Regions from separate parts of the Homo sapiens genome. Here region 2 is linked to region 1. The links are contacts of gene promoters, found by promoter capture Hi-C in blood cells and fetal thymus (Javierre and others, 2016). All regions are on one chromosome and are shown on one strand. The core of a region is centred on a gene start or on the middle of the fragment in contact, and the rest is flanking DNA. Distances in the headings are between cores, read along the strand shown. Region 1 holds the start of LAMTOR5 (late endosomal/lysosomal adaptor, MAPK and MTOR activator 5). Region 2 holds the start of CFAP276 (cilia and flagella associated protein 276).

Evidence for each region. The method cuts DNA at HindIII sites, captures the fragments that hold promoters and counts their contacts. A CHiCAGO score of 5 or more calls a contact.
Region 2: the fragment with the promoter of CFAP276 here is called in contact with the fragment with the promoter of LAMTOR5 in region 1 in 2 of 17 cell types (neutrophils and total B cells); the score reaches 6.7 in neutrophils.

Annotation. Positions count from the first base shown.
Region 1 is chr1:110,405,212-110,411,608 of GRCh38, reverse strand. It overlaps LAMTOR5 (late endosomal/lysosomal adaptor, MAPK and MTOR activator 5), which reads left to right and starts at 3,915. Exons shown (of 4, transcript NM_001382293.1): 1 at 3,915-4,023; 2 at 5,230-5,291. The coding sequence starts at 3,989. It overlaps LAMTOR5-AS1 (LAMTOR5 and SLC16A4 antisense RNA 1), which reads right to left and starts at 3,800. Exons shown (of 3, transcript NR_102697.1): 1 at 3,655-3,800. RefSeq lists an enhancer at 3,744-3,973. The HindIII fragment of the contact is 8,453 bases long and covers 2,014-6,397 here.
Region 2 is chr1:109,109,060-109,115,917 of GRCh38, reverse strand. CFAP276 (cilia and flagella associated protein 276) reads left to right here and starts at 3,171. Exons shown (of 5, transcript NM_001245025.3): 1 at 3,171-3,319. The coding sequence starts at 3,239. ELAPOR1 (endosome-lysosome associated apoptosis and autophagy regulator 1) reads right to left here and starts at 1,803. Exons shown (of 22, transcript NM_020775.5): 1 at 1,582-1,803. The coding sequence starts at 1,734. RefSeq lists a silencer at 1,982-2,051. The HindIII fragment of the contact is 3,574 bases long and covers 535-4,108 here.

The DNA.
Region 1 (6,397 bases), core at 2,666-5,165:
TTCCTCTCCCATTGCCTACTTGCACAGGGGCAAGACAGCAGCAGGGCAGAGAAAGCGGGGGTGGTAAGGAGTAGCCTGCTCTCTCACCTCCCATGTGGCAAGGACATGTGAGCCAGCTATCATCCTCTTCCTACTTGATTTCCCTTCAAAGGCCTTCCTTATAGCTTAAAAAGCAATCGCCAGTCTTTCGGAGAATCCTTTTTTTTTTTTGAGACAGGGTCTCATTCTGTCACCCAGGCTGGAGTGCAGTTGTGCAATCTCAGCTCACTGCAGCCTCAACCTCCCGGGCTCAAGTGATCCTCCCACCTCACACAAAGTACTTGAGACCACAGGTGCGCATCACCATGCCCAGCTAATTTTTGTGCTTTGGTAGAGACAGGGTCTCCCCACGTTGGCTAGGCTGGTCTCAAACTCCTGGGCTCAAGCCATCCGCCCACCTAGGCCTCCCAAAGTGCGGGGATTACAGGCGTAAACCACCATACCAGGCCTGAAAACTACCATGCCTGGCCTGAGAATCCTTTAATCACTGATCTAGCTTTGAGATAATTTGAGATATCCTTGGGCTACACTGGCCAATACTGTGGCCACTAGCCACAGGTGGCTGCTGAGCACTTGAAATGCGGCTGGTCTGAATTGAAATGTGCTGCTAACTGAAAAATATACCCTGGATTTTGAAGACAGTACTGGAGAAAAAATATAAAATATCTCATTAGTATTTTATCAATCACAAGTTGAAATAATATTTTGAATATATTGTTTGAATAAATAAAATGTTATTAAAATTAGTTTCATCTGTTTTACTTTTTTTTGAGACAGTCTCACACTGTAGCACAGCCTGGAGTGCTGTGGCTCAATCTCGGCTCACTGCAACCTCCAGCTCCCGAGTTCAAACGATCCTCCTGCCTCAGCCTCCTGAGTAGCTGGGACTACAGGCACGCACCATCACACCCAGCTAATTTTTGTATTTTTAGTAGAGATGGGGTTTCGCCATGTTGGCCAGGCTGGTCTCAAACTCCTGACCTCAACTGATCCACCCATCTCGGCCTCCCAAAGTGCTAGGATTACAGGCGTGAGCCACTGCACCCTGCCCTGTTTTACTTTTTTTTTTTTTTTTTTTTTTTTTTTGAGACAGAGTCTCGCTCTGTCGCCCAGGCTGGAGTGCAGTGGCGCGATCTCGGCTCACTGCAAGCTCCGCCTCCCAGGCTCACACCATTCTCCTGCCTCAGCCTCCTGAGTAGCTGGGACCACAGGCGCCCACCACCACACCCGGAGAATTTTTTGTATTTTTAGTGGAGACAGGGTTTCACCGTGTTAGCCAGGATGGTCTCAATCTCCTGACCTCGTGATCCACCCGCCTCGGCCTCCCAAAGTGCTGGGATTACAGGCGTGAGCCACCGCGCCCGGCTGTTTTACTTTTTTTAATGTGGCCACTAGACTATATTGCCCAGGCTGGACTTGAACTCCTGGGCTCAAGGGATCCTCCTGCCTCAGCCTCCTGAGTAGCTGGGATTATAGGCACGTGCCATTTCACCAGGCAGTACTTATGTTTTCTAATGCTAAGTTTTAAACTGCTTTTTCTAAAACTTATATGGCCTGTACTGTGTTACCCCTAACTTAACATGAATAATTTCTCTAGAGCAGGAGTCCAAGACCCCTGAATTATAACATTCAAACTGGAATTTTGGCTGGGTGCAATGGCTCATGCCTATAATCCCAGCACTTTGGGAGGCTGAGGTGGGCGGATCGCTTGAGGTCAGGAGTTTGAGACCAGCCTGGCCAACATGGTGAAACCCCATCTCTACTAAAAGCACAAAAATTAGCCACGTGTGGTGGTGCATGCCTGTAATCCCAGCTACTCGGGAGGCTGAGGCAGAAGAATCGCTTGAACCAGGAGGCAGAGGTTGCAGTGAGCTGAGACGGCGCCACTGCACTCCAGCCTGGGCGATAGAGCAAGACTCTGTCTCAAAAAAATAAAGAAATAAACAAACTGGAATTTCAAGGAAGCTGCAAGCTTCACTATGACAGCTGCGGAATAAAAAGGGACTCTGAATGCCAGTGCAGTGTATTGGACTTTGGTTCAATACCAAAGTCTGGTATCTTCCGATCTGGGAGCTGGGCCCCAGATTGGAAGGTAGGCTGTGAGTAAAAAGCTGGAGGTGACAGAGTTGGAAGAAACTTAGTGCAAGGAATGATCCACAGAGGGGGTGAGGCTTACCAATTTGAGTAAATTAGCACCACTTTTTCGGGAGGCAATTTGTAAGTATGTATCAAGAGTCTTAAAAAATGATCATGTCCTTTAACCCAGTCATTCCATTTCTAGTAACTTATAAGGAAATTTTAAAACTGCACAGATATTTAGCTATGAGGATATTCAACCAGCATTGTAATAGCTAAAACAAAAAACAAACAAAAGCAAAAAAAAAAAAAAAAGTCCAAGTACAGTGGCTCACCTGCAATCTCAGCGCTTTGGGAAGCCAACGAGGGAGGGTCACTTGAGACTGGGCTACACACTGAGACTCCATCTCTACAATTTTTTTTTTAATTAGCTAGGTGGGGTGGCGGGTCCCTGTAGTCCCAGCTTCTTGGGAGGCTGAGGTGGGAAGATCGCTTGAACCTAGAAGGCTGAGGCTGGACTAAGCCATGATAGTGCCACTGCACTCCAACCTTAATCCACAATTAAGATACAGCTATAAAATGGAATATTTTGCAACTACTACAAAGGATGTAAGTGAAAACTTGACATGGAAAGACATTTATTCTAAACTCTGTAAAGAAGGCCAGCTACAGAATTGTACCTCCAGTATGTATGTCAATTTTGCTTACAAAACAAACAAAACAAAAAAAACCATGCTAGGCGTGGTGACTCAGCCTGTAATCACATTTTGGGAGGCTGGAGTGGGAGGATCTGTTGAAGCAAGGAGTTTAAGACCAGCCTGGACAACACAGCGAGACCCCCATCTCTACAAAAAAACGTAAAAATTAGCCAGACATGATGGCTCGAGGCTGTGGTCCTAGCCAGTCGAGAGGCTGAGAGGTGAGGATAGCTTGAACCCAGGACGTCCGGGTTGCAATGAGCTATAATCGTTCTACTGCACTACAGCCTGGGTAACAGAGCAAGACCCTGTCCCCCAAAAAATTTATTTTAAAAAGGCAAACGAAAAAACATTAAAAGTATACATTTACAAAGACAACTATCTGAAAGGATATTCTCCAAGAAGTTAAAAGTCGTCTTTGGACAGTGGGGCCATAGATGTTTTCCTATTTTTACCAGCTTTATAATTAATTTTTAAAAGTTATTTTCAAGTAGTCCTACCCAGTCTTCCTTACGAGTTAGGACTCAAATGCCACTCTCTTCCCCTAAACTGTCCTGAGTCCCCTCACCATAATAAGCACCAATGTCTTCGTTAAAATCCCGACACTGCCAACACTCAGCTAGGGGGTTGAACCTTGCTCCATCTCGTCCTTTAGTCTCTGTGTGCGTCTTTCCCCCTACAAGCCTACTGACCCCCTCCAAGAGGTCCCGTGTCTTCCCCGTACTTGCCCCACAGGCTAGATCAGACCCTGTCTGACCCCTGGGTTATTGTAAAACTTAAGATCTGTCCCCTAGGTCTCGGAGTCGGTTGAACTAGGGTCCAAAGGTTAAAAAACACTGACACAAAATGCCAGGCCACGAACTGAAGCACTGAGGCCCGGCTGCAGACCTCTCCCGAGAGGGGAATAATCCGTGCCGGCCGGTTCCGCCATGGAGCCAGGTGCAGGTCACCTCGACGGTCACCGCGCGGGGAGCCCAAGCCTTCGTCAGGCTCTGTGCGACGGAAGCGCAGTGATGTTTTCCAGTAAAGAACGCGGACGTTGCACCGTGATCAATTTTGTCCCTTTGGAGGCGCCGTTACGGTCCACGCCCCGCTCGCGTCAAGTGACTGAGGCCTGTGGTGGAGAAGGACGTGCCGTGCCGCTGGGTTCTGAGCCGGAGTGGTCGGTGGGTGGGATGGAGGCGACCTTGGAGCAGCACTTGGAAGACACGTGAGTAGTGCGCGCCTCTTCGGCCTGTCCTGAGGTCGCGGCGGAGGAACTTGAGCGGAACGAAAGGCGCGAGCTGCGAGTACCGGCCAGGGCGTCTCGGGGACGTCGCGCGACCCCCGGGACACGGGATGAGGGGGCTAAACTCTACCCAAGGCCGCAGGGCGGGGCGGGTGACCCGGAATTAAAATCCTGCCGGGCACCGCACATTCCCTCTTGAGCGAGTCTCCCGGGCCCAGGCCACGGGCCAAAACTGCCTATCTCGTTGTTGAAATCGTCTTTACGGTCAGGGTGGTTCTGCGGAAGTTTTAGAAAACGGGTTGACTTTTGGGAAGATTGTGCCAGTTGTGCAGTGTCGAGCCCTGCAGTGTAAACAAACACGTATCTCCTGTGTGTAACCTATCAGTTACTTGGTGCTTAAGTAGATAAAAATCATTCTTTAAATTTTTCGAACAAGCAGTATCTATGTAAAATTCAAAACTGGAAAAGTGTAAAGGGTACAGAGAGACACCTGCCTCCCACCGATGTCCCTCAGCTTCCACTTACCCTCCAGGAGGTAACTTGAGTTTTTCAACAGTTGTTTTAAATGAGTTAGTACTAAAACATGCGTTTTTAACAAGAGTGAAAACATCCTAGATGTTTTTCACGCAGTGTTTGTGGCCCTCCAGAACTCAGCAGTACTTAGCACATTTTTTTCTCTCATCAGAGAGAAACTGGTTTATTTCAATTAATTAACTAGAACTTAAATTTTTTGTGTTCTTTTTTTGAGACGGAATTTCGCTCGTCTTCCAGGCTGGAGTGCAATGGCGTGATCTCGGCTCACTGCAACCTCCGCCTCCCAGGTTCAAGCGATTCTCTTGCCTCAGCCTCCCGAGTAGCTGGGATTACAGTCATGCGCCACCACGCCTGGCTAATTTTGTATTTTTAGTAGAGACGGGGTTTCTCCATGTTGGTCAGGCTGGTCTTGAACTCCCGACCTCAGGTGATCCGCCCACCTGGGCCTCCCAAAGTGCTGGGATTACAGGCGTGAGCAACCGCGCCCGGCCCTAGAACTTAATTTTTTTCTTAGGGTGTGACAATGAAAAAAGATTGAGAAATATTGATTTAAAGCACTTAATGCCTGGTACATAGAACACCTGTATGTTTGTACTTATTTAAATCCTTTTTCTCCCATTATGTACTTCAACTCTCTTGTGTTCCTGGAATTAGAATGAAGAATCCCTCCATTGTTGGAGTCCTGTGCACAGATTCACAAGGACTTAATCTGGGTTGTAAGTATCTCTCATACCAACTATTTGATGAATTGCATAGCATCTGATGTTGACTTGGAGCCTAGCGTGCTATTATTTTCTAGCTTTTATTTCCTGTTACCTTGCCAGGTCTTTCTGAGTTTGAGAGTAGAGATTATCTCCAAATAACAGTATCAGAAAATTGAAACTTTTCAGTTGGTATTTATGAAGGAAGATGTTCCTTGCAGTCCTATAACAATAAATAGTTGTCTCTACTAAAAATAATATTTGAATCATTTTAAATTGAGTCTAGAAAGGACTTCAGATAATAACAGCTGTTAACCATTTATTGAATGTATGCCATATGCTGAGACTGCTAGGCTCTAAATACATTATCTTTAATTTTCACAACAACCCGGCAAGGTGGGTGGTGTACAATTTTGAAGCTCAACTACACTAAACAAGAAGTGAATAGGCAGTAAAATGGGATTTCAGTGTTGGACATACCTGGTCTCAATCCCTTGCTCTTTCATTTGTTAGTAGTGTGAACGTGGACCAAAAAACTACCTTTTAGGCCCTCATTTTCTTCACTGGGTTGTTATTTGATAATGGTAATAATCATAGAATTATATTTATTGAGCTGTTATGTGCCAAGCACCATTGTAAGTGCTTTACATATACTCTTTTATTCCTCATAACAACCCAGTGAGGTAGAAAAAGAAATTGAGGGACCAGGTGCAGTGTCTCACGCCTGTAATCCCAGCACTTTGGGAGACCAAGGTGGGCAGATCACTTGAGCCCAGGAGTTCAAGACCAGCCTGTGCAACACAGTGAGACCCCCCATCTCTATTTTTACAATAAACATATATATATGTTTTTAAAATTTAAAAAAAGAGGCCGGATGCGGTGGCTCACACCTGTGATCCCAGCACTTTGGGAGGCGGAGGCGGGTGGATCACCTGAGGTCAGGAGTTCGAGACTAGCCTGGCCAACATGGTGAAACCACATCTCTACTAAAAATGCAAAAAAAAATTAGCCAGGCATGGTAGCAGGTGCTAGTAATCCCAGCTACTCGGGAGGCTGAGGCAGGAGAATCGCTTGAACCTGGGAGGCAGAGGTTGCAGTAAGCCGAGATTGCACCATTGCAC
Region 2 (6,858 bases), core at 1,922-4,421, 1.3 Mb after region 1:
CAAGGCCAGTGAGCCAGTCACTGATAAGATCATACTGTTCCCTGCGATCTCTAAAACAGGTCATAATGCGGCTAGGTGGAAATGTAGATGGCCCAGGGCAGGTTGTCATTGGAGCTAATAAAGGTTATCAAAAGTCCCACTCACTGGGGTCACTTATGTCATATTCATGAATCTTCAAAATCAAGTATCTTTATTCACACAAAAATCCTCCCCCCCACACCTGACTTCTTTATGACCTGCTGTGCTGTAGACACAGAACATCTTTATAAGAATTTATCTCCATATGGGATGGAGTTGTTGCCAATCAGTTCACACTAACAATTTATAAAAAATATTCTGGGCTGGGCGCAGTGGCTCATTCTTATAATCCCAGCACTTTGGGAGGCCGAGGTGGGAAGTCGCTTGAGCCCAGGAGTTAGAGACTGGCCGGGGCAGTATATCGAAACCTCATTTCTATTTTAAAACATATATTTTTTAAAGTAAAGAAAATACATCTATATATATATTCTAACCTCTCAAAACCTTAGTCAAGCTTGATATTTGGGATTAAATTTACAGAGCTAGATGCTTGACTTTTTATGAAGTCCTTCACATTTCACAGAAATAACAGAACTTTTATTTTGCCTTCCCCAACGTAGTTCTTGTAAATATCTTATTGTTGCCTCTGCCATATGGTTTCTAAAAAAGTTGCTCAGAGCACAACCAAATATTGTTATTTCAATAACATAGAAATGACTTAGTTTTGTTGCTGCTAGTGCCCTTTTATGTTCCTCCAAGATGACTTTTCAAAAGCTATTTTTGGTTATAAGAGATTGACTACCTATTGTCTGAATTCTGCTTCCAACATATTGGAAATACCTTGAAAAAGACTTTGACATATGTTAAGTCAGAGAAGGAGACTAGAGGTTGGCAGAACACAAGATATTGAAGAACTCAAAATCTGCAAAAAGGTGAGTCGTGTACTGTCAGGTACACTAAACATAGTACGCTGCGGGGAGGCCAAGCTATAAGGAGGAGACACATTTTACAGTCTGCACTAACCGATGTTTAATAAACAAGGAACTAGAGAGCTGGAATCCTATCATCCCTCTCGCACATCTCCCACCTTCACACTCCGTTTTGTGTAGCCATGATAAAACCACTTCGCTCTGATACTTTTTTCTGGCCTTCCTAACTCCTTTCCTCTCCCACTACTCTTCTTTCCTCTTCCTATTTTGCTTCTCTGTGCATAATCTTTTCTTGTCAACCACTTTTAAGGTGAGTTCATCCTAACTGGAAAATAACTCGTCTGCCTCCCTCATTCTGAGTTCAGGTACCCAGGTAGCTCCCCTTCTTGGGGCTGGGACCTTTCTCGCTGAGCTCAGCATCCCAATCTGTGAGGATGATCTATCCGTGAGTCCTCCAATGTGCTGGCCTCCTCATGACGCCAGACTGGCTCCTCTTCCCTCCCCCCACGCCTCATCCCCAAAGAAATCTAAACTCCGTGGCGTCTGAAACTCTCTGCGCCTGGGTCCCCAAGGTCTCCGCCTGGATCCAAGACTTTTGTGACCAAAGCGGGATCGGGTAGGGGGGCGGCAGTACCTCTTTGCAGGCATGAAGCTCCGGTCCCGTTCCCTGGGTCACCTGGAAGGCGGTCCCAGCCCAGAGCAGCAGCCGCCACAGCCGGGGTATGCGCCTCTCAGTTCTTCCCCTGACTCTGGCGGAGAGATGGTGGCTGTGCCCAGGCTCAGCCATAGCGTTGTCCTGAGTGAGCGGCAGTAGCGGCTCAGGTGCTGCGGCTGCTGCTTCTGCTGGCAGAAGGCGGAAAAAAAGGGGAGGGAGGTACACAGGCGGAGGATGCAAGAGGCCAGGCTCGCTTCAGTCACCTCCCTGCGGCTACGCCAACACCGCCCATCCTTCCTCCTCCCTCTGTCCTCTCCTCCTACCCACGTCGCCTTGACAACCGCCTCCTCTCTGGCTCCGCGCGGGTGGGGCAGGGACCACGCGCGCCTCTGCAGCTCACCTGCGGGTCGCCATGGCAGCCGCCGCCGCTGGTGCGCGCGGCGTGGGCGCGGGAGAGCGCGCGCCCGGGGTGCGCAACCGGCCCAACAGGCAGGCCCGGGGCTCGTGTGAAGAACACAGTGGAAGCATCCTCCAAGCCAGCCAACAAATTTCCGTTTTCTACTGCCCTTTCGGGCCAGGGGTTATTTTATGAGCATCTCCGATGTTGCACACGTGGCGTGTGAACCGAGAGAAAGAAGATGGAGAGATCACCCTCCAGACGTCGTCGCCTGGAAGAGGCCCCAGTACGTGTTCCCTCCTACGAAGGCCACTCCTGGAGATCTTACATCCCGCCAAATCCATCCGTGCTTTTACAACCGGCTAGAAGAGAAGCCCTGACACTGTAGTTGATCCGAGTTTAAGCGAGGAGTTTGCCTTAGCCGCAATTTCCCAAGCGCCGCACGTGGGCCTCTCTCTCTCTCTCTCTCTCTCTCTCTCTCTCTCTCTCTCTCTCTCTCTCTTTCTCTCTCTCTCTCTCTCTCTCTGAGACAGGGTCTCACTCTCTCGCCCACACTGGAGTGCAGTGGCGCGATCTCGGCTAACTGCAACCTCCGCCTTCCGGGTTCAAGAGATTCTCCTGGATTAGCCTCCCGAGTAGCTGGGACTACGGGCGCGTGCCACCAAGCCCAGCTAATTTTTTTCCTACTTTTTGTAGAGACGGGGTTTCGCCATGTTGCCCAGACTGGTCTCGAACTCTTGGGCTTAAGCGATCCGCCCGCCTCCGCTTCCCAAAGTGCTGAGATTACAGGCGTGAACCACCGCGCCCGGCCCTCTTTGGTCTCTTGACATCCTCATTCTCTCATGGCTTTGAAAGCCTTTTGTTAGGTGCGAGGGAGAAGGAAATTTCTGGGTCATCTTTCAGGACTTCTTTCCTCAACTGAAGTCTTTTGCAGAAGTCCTGATGGTGAGCAGCCAGCACTTTTCCGCCGAGGCTCAGGAGTGCAATTCCAAGTCTCGGGCCCGCTCAGCGGAACGTTCCCTCTGCAGTCCCCGGAGCTTCCTCCCCAGGGGCCTCCCGTGGTCAGCCGCCAGGTGGCGCCCTCCTCTGAGGGAATTCCTCTGTCATAGATGGCTGGGCAGTTGCCTGGCAACCGAAACCAGCGCTCCAAACAATTGGGACCCGGGATCTTATGCCAGTGAGGCTGTGCTGCGGCTGAGCGGGCCTCCCATCCCTCTTAAAAGAGTTAGGCATTTAGCCATGCCTCCCACCCGGGACCCTTTCCAGCAGCCTACATTAGATAACGATGATTCCTACTTAGGAGAACTGCGGGCTTCCAAGGTACTGTGGTTTCTTGCGCAGATTCCCAGTAGGGTCGCCGGTAGTCTTCTTTCTGTCTGTGTGATGAGCAGAGATGGTAACATAAAGGACTCTGGTGAAGACACTCAGTCGGGTACCAGGGAAGTCTGTTTTCTGCCTGCCTCCCTATCTCCATATTCAAGTCGGCTAACGTTTCAGAGGCGTTTTTGAGCAGAGGAAAGTAGAGTTCTAGTCTAGAGGAACAAGGGGCTCTGGCAGCTCAAATCAATTGTGAGTATAAGTTATGGCAGTGCCCAGGTTCCTTCAAGCTACCCATTTCCCTATTTGGAAGACTGTTCTCTGAAGAGAAATGAGATATGGAGTGGGAGAGAATCCTCTGAAAGCCACCAGAGGTCATGCTTTACACATCTGTGTTCACACTGTCTCTGTCTTCTGGTTAACACCACAATATGTTTGTTATGTGTGTGTTTAGCATGATGGTGGACACTGATTTCGGAACTTAGATGATCTTTTTTCTGGTAGAAGTGATTGGGATATATGAAGTGGTGCACAATAAGATGAATTAAGTGGTGATTGTGGTCTAATAACAATATTGAGAGCCCCTTTTTATTTATTCAATACTTATTTACTATAAGCCAGACACTCTGCTAAACGCCAAGGATATATAAATAAATTAGATGTAGCTTCTGCTGTCAAGGAACTCTAGTAGTAAAGAGAGACCGACAATAGCAAAAATGCTTGCACAATAGCACATGTTGTGACAGAGTTGTGTGCAGGGTGCCGTGAGAACCAGGAACTTAAAGGAAAGCTTCACAGAGCAGATGCATTTTGATGTCCAAATATGAGTTAGGTAGGCCAGGTGAGGGAGTGGATAGAATGTGAGTTAGGAAGAAGGAAACAGGAACCAGATATGCAAGGCAAAGGAAGCAGCAGGTGCAAATACATGGAAAGGAGAGAGAGAATGGCTTATTTGGGGAACTGCAAATAGTCTAGAAGGGCTGGAGTGTAGGCGTGCAATGGAAGCACTCAGAAATCAGAGCTGGAGAGATGCCCTTGGTTGGCTGGGTGTGCTGTGTACACCATGCTAGCTAGCTATGGTTTCATCCTAGGGATGTGAGGAATCATTGTGGGATATTTTTTTTTTTTTGAGACAGGGTCTCCTTGCTCTGTCACCCCAGCTGGAGTGCACTGGTGCAATCTTGGCTTACTGCAGCCTCGAACTCCTGGGCTCAAGCAATTCTCCCACCTCAGCCTCCCAAGTAGCTGGGACTACAGGTGATGCCACCACACCCGGCTAATTCTTATTTTATTTTTTTGTAGAACCAGGATCTTCCTTTGTTGCCCAGGCTGGTCTCAAACTCCTAGCCTCAAGTGATCCTCCTGCTTTGGCCTCCCAAAGTGCTGAGATTACAGGCATGAGCCATGGGTCCCAGCCCCATAGCAGGATTTTAAGTACCACAGTGACACAATCAGATGGGTGTTTTAGGAAGCACAAGTGGCAGCAGACTGGATAGGATGAGAGTGAGACAAGAGGGATCAGCTAGGAGGCAGGTGAGGTGATCTCCAGGAGGAAGAGTAACAGATCTACAGCAGTGCCACAGGGGGTGGTGATCAGGTGCAGATGTGAGAAAGGTGCACAGGGCAGGACTGACAGGACTTGGAGACTGACTGGACATGGGCCCAAGAGAGGAGGTGAGTCTAGGATAGCTGCTGGGTTCCTAACGGTTTAATTCTGAGGTTTCACTGAAATGGGGCATCCTGGGGAAGCAGGTTTGGGGAGAAAGATGTTGAGAAACATCAACTATGTAGATGTTTTTGTAGTGACTGTGGTATATTTAAGTGAAGGTCAATAGTAGGCAACAGGATTGAGAGTTCTGGATTGAAGATGTATGACTGAGCTGTGTATCCGTATGAGCTATGGTACCCATATGGTAGTTGAAGCCATGGAAGGGAATCAGCTCATCCAGTGGATGTGAGCATAAGAAAAGTAAAAATGAGACCCTTGGAGAATAGCACTGCCTAAGGGACAGAGAGAAAGTGGAGCTGAGACAGTAGCTGAGAGATAAGGGCCAGAAATAAGAGGAAAACCCAGAGGAGCTGGGCCCACAGAGCTTGGTGAGGGCATTTGAGGGAATCAGCATTATGGTGCCAGAAACAGCTGAGTTCAAATAAGATCAGGCCTGGAAAGGATCCACCTGACCTGGCCACAGAGATCATTGATAACTAGCAAGAGCAGTTTTAGGGGGTGCTTGAGGCAGAGGCCAGACTGCAGTGAGCTAAAGAGGGTATGGGAATGGTGAGTGAGGAAGTAGAGATAGTAAATATTGACTCCTGAAAAGGTCTGGTTCTGTAGGGAAGGTGACAGGCTGGTAGCTAGACCACGACAAAGAAATGAAGTGAGGCTGGGGTCAGAAGAGAGCGTATGCAGAATGGTACAGGTCTCAGAAGACCAGGGAAGGGTGGGTCTGGGGAGAAAGGGTTATTCTTGAGTAAAAGGGACTTTCCTTTCCCTGAGATGGAAAGAAAGTGGATGTAAAGATGGCATTCATGCTTGACAGTCTGGACTTTCTCAGTGAAAGACAGACTCATCCTTCTGCTGACAGAGATGACGAGGTTTAAGTGGTCTTCAAGGAGAGTGGGAGGAGTGCTGCTCAGGGCCACATCAAAGGACAACTGAGCCTATGCTGGCATCAAATACCTGTAGCTTTCTTTCTTTCATACTTCATTCTTCTCAGTGATAGCACAGTGCCTGATACACACTGTTCAATTAAGGTATGACTCACAGCGGGGCACGGTGGCTCATACCTGTAATTCCAGCAGTTTGGGAGGCTGAGGCAGGTGGATCACCTGAGGTCAGGAGTTTGAGACCAGTCTGGCCAATGTGGTGAAGCCCCATCTCTAATAAAAATACAAAAATTAGCCAGATGCGGTGGCACATGCCTGTAATCCTAGCTATTCGGGAGGCTAAGGCTGGAGAATCGCTTGAACCCAGGAGGCGGAGGTTGCAGTGAGCCGAGATCATGCCACTGTACTCCAGTCTGGGCGACAGAGCGAGACTCTGTCTCAAAAAAAAAAAAAAAAAAAAAGGTATGGCTCACATAGCACTTTGCCATATTGTGGGGAAGGAGGATTACAATGTTGGATAGGTCTAATGAGAGTTCTATTTTTTTTGAGACAGAGTCCCACTCTTGTTGCCCAGGCTGGAGTGCAGTGGCGCGATCTCGGCTCACTGCAACCTCCACCTCCTGGGTTCAAGCGATTCTCCCTCCTCAGCCTCCCAAGTAGCTGAGATTACAGGCGCCCACCACTACCCCCAGCTAATTTTTGTATTTTAGTAGAGATGGAGTTTCATCATGTTGGTCAGGCTGGTCTCAAACTCCTGACCTCAGGTGATCCGCCCGCCTCAGCCTCCCAAAGTGCTGGGATTACAGGGGTGAGACACTGCACCCAGCGAGAGTTCTAATAGGTTGTTAGTTGCACTCACTGGAATTCAGTCAAATGATATAGTGGATTCAAGCATTTTTTAATACCATGTGTTAGGTAGTGTGCTAGGAACTGGG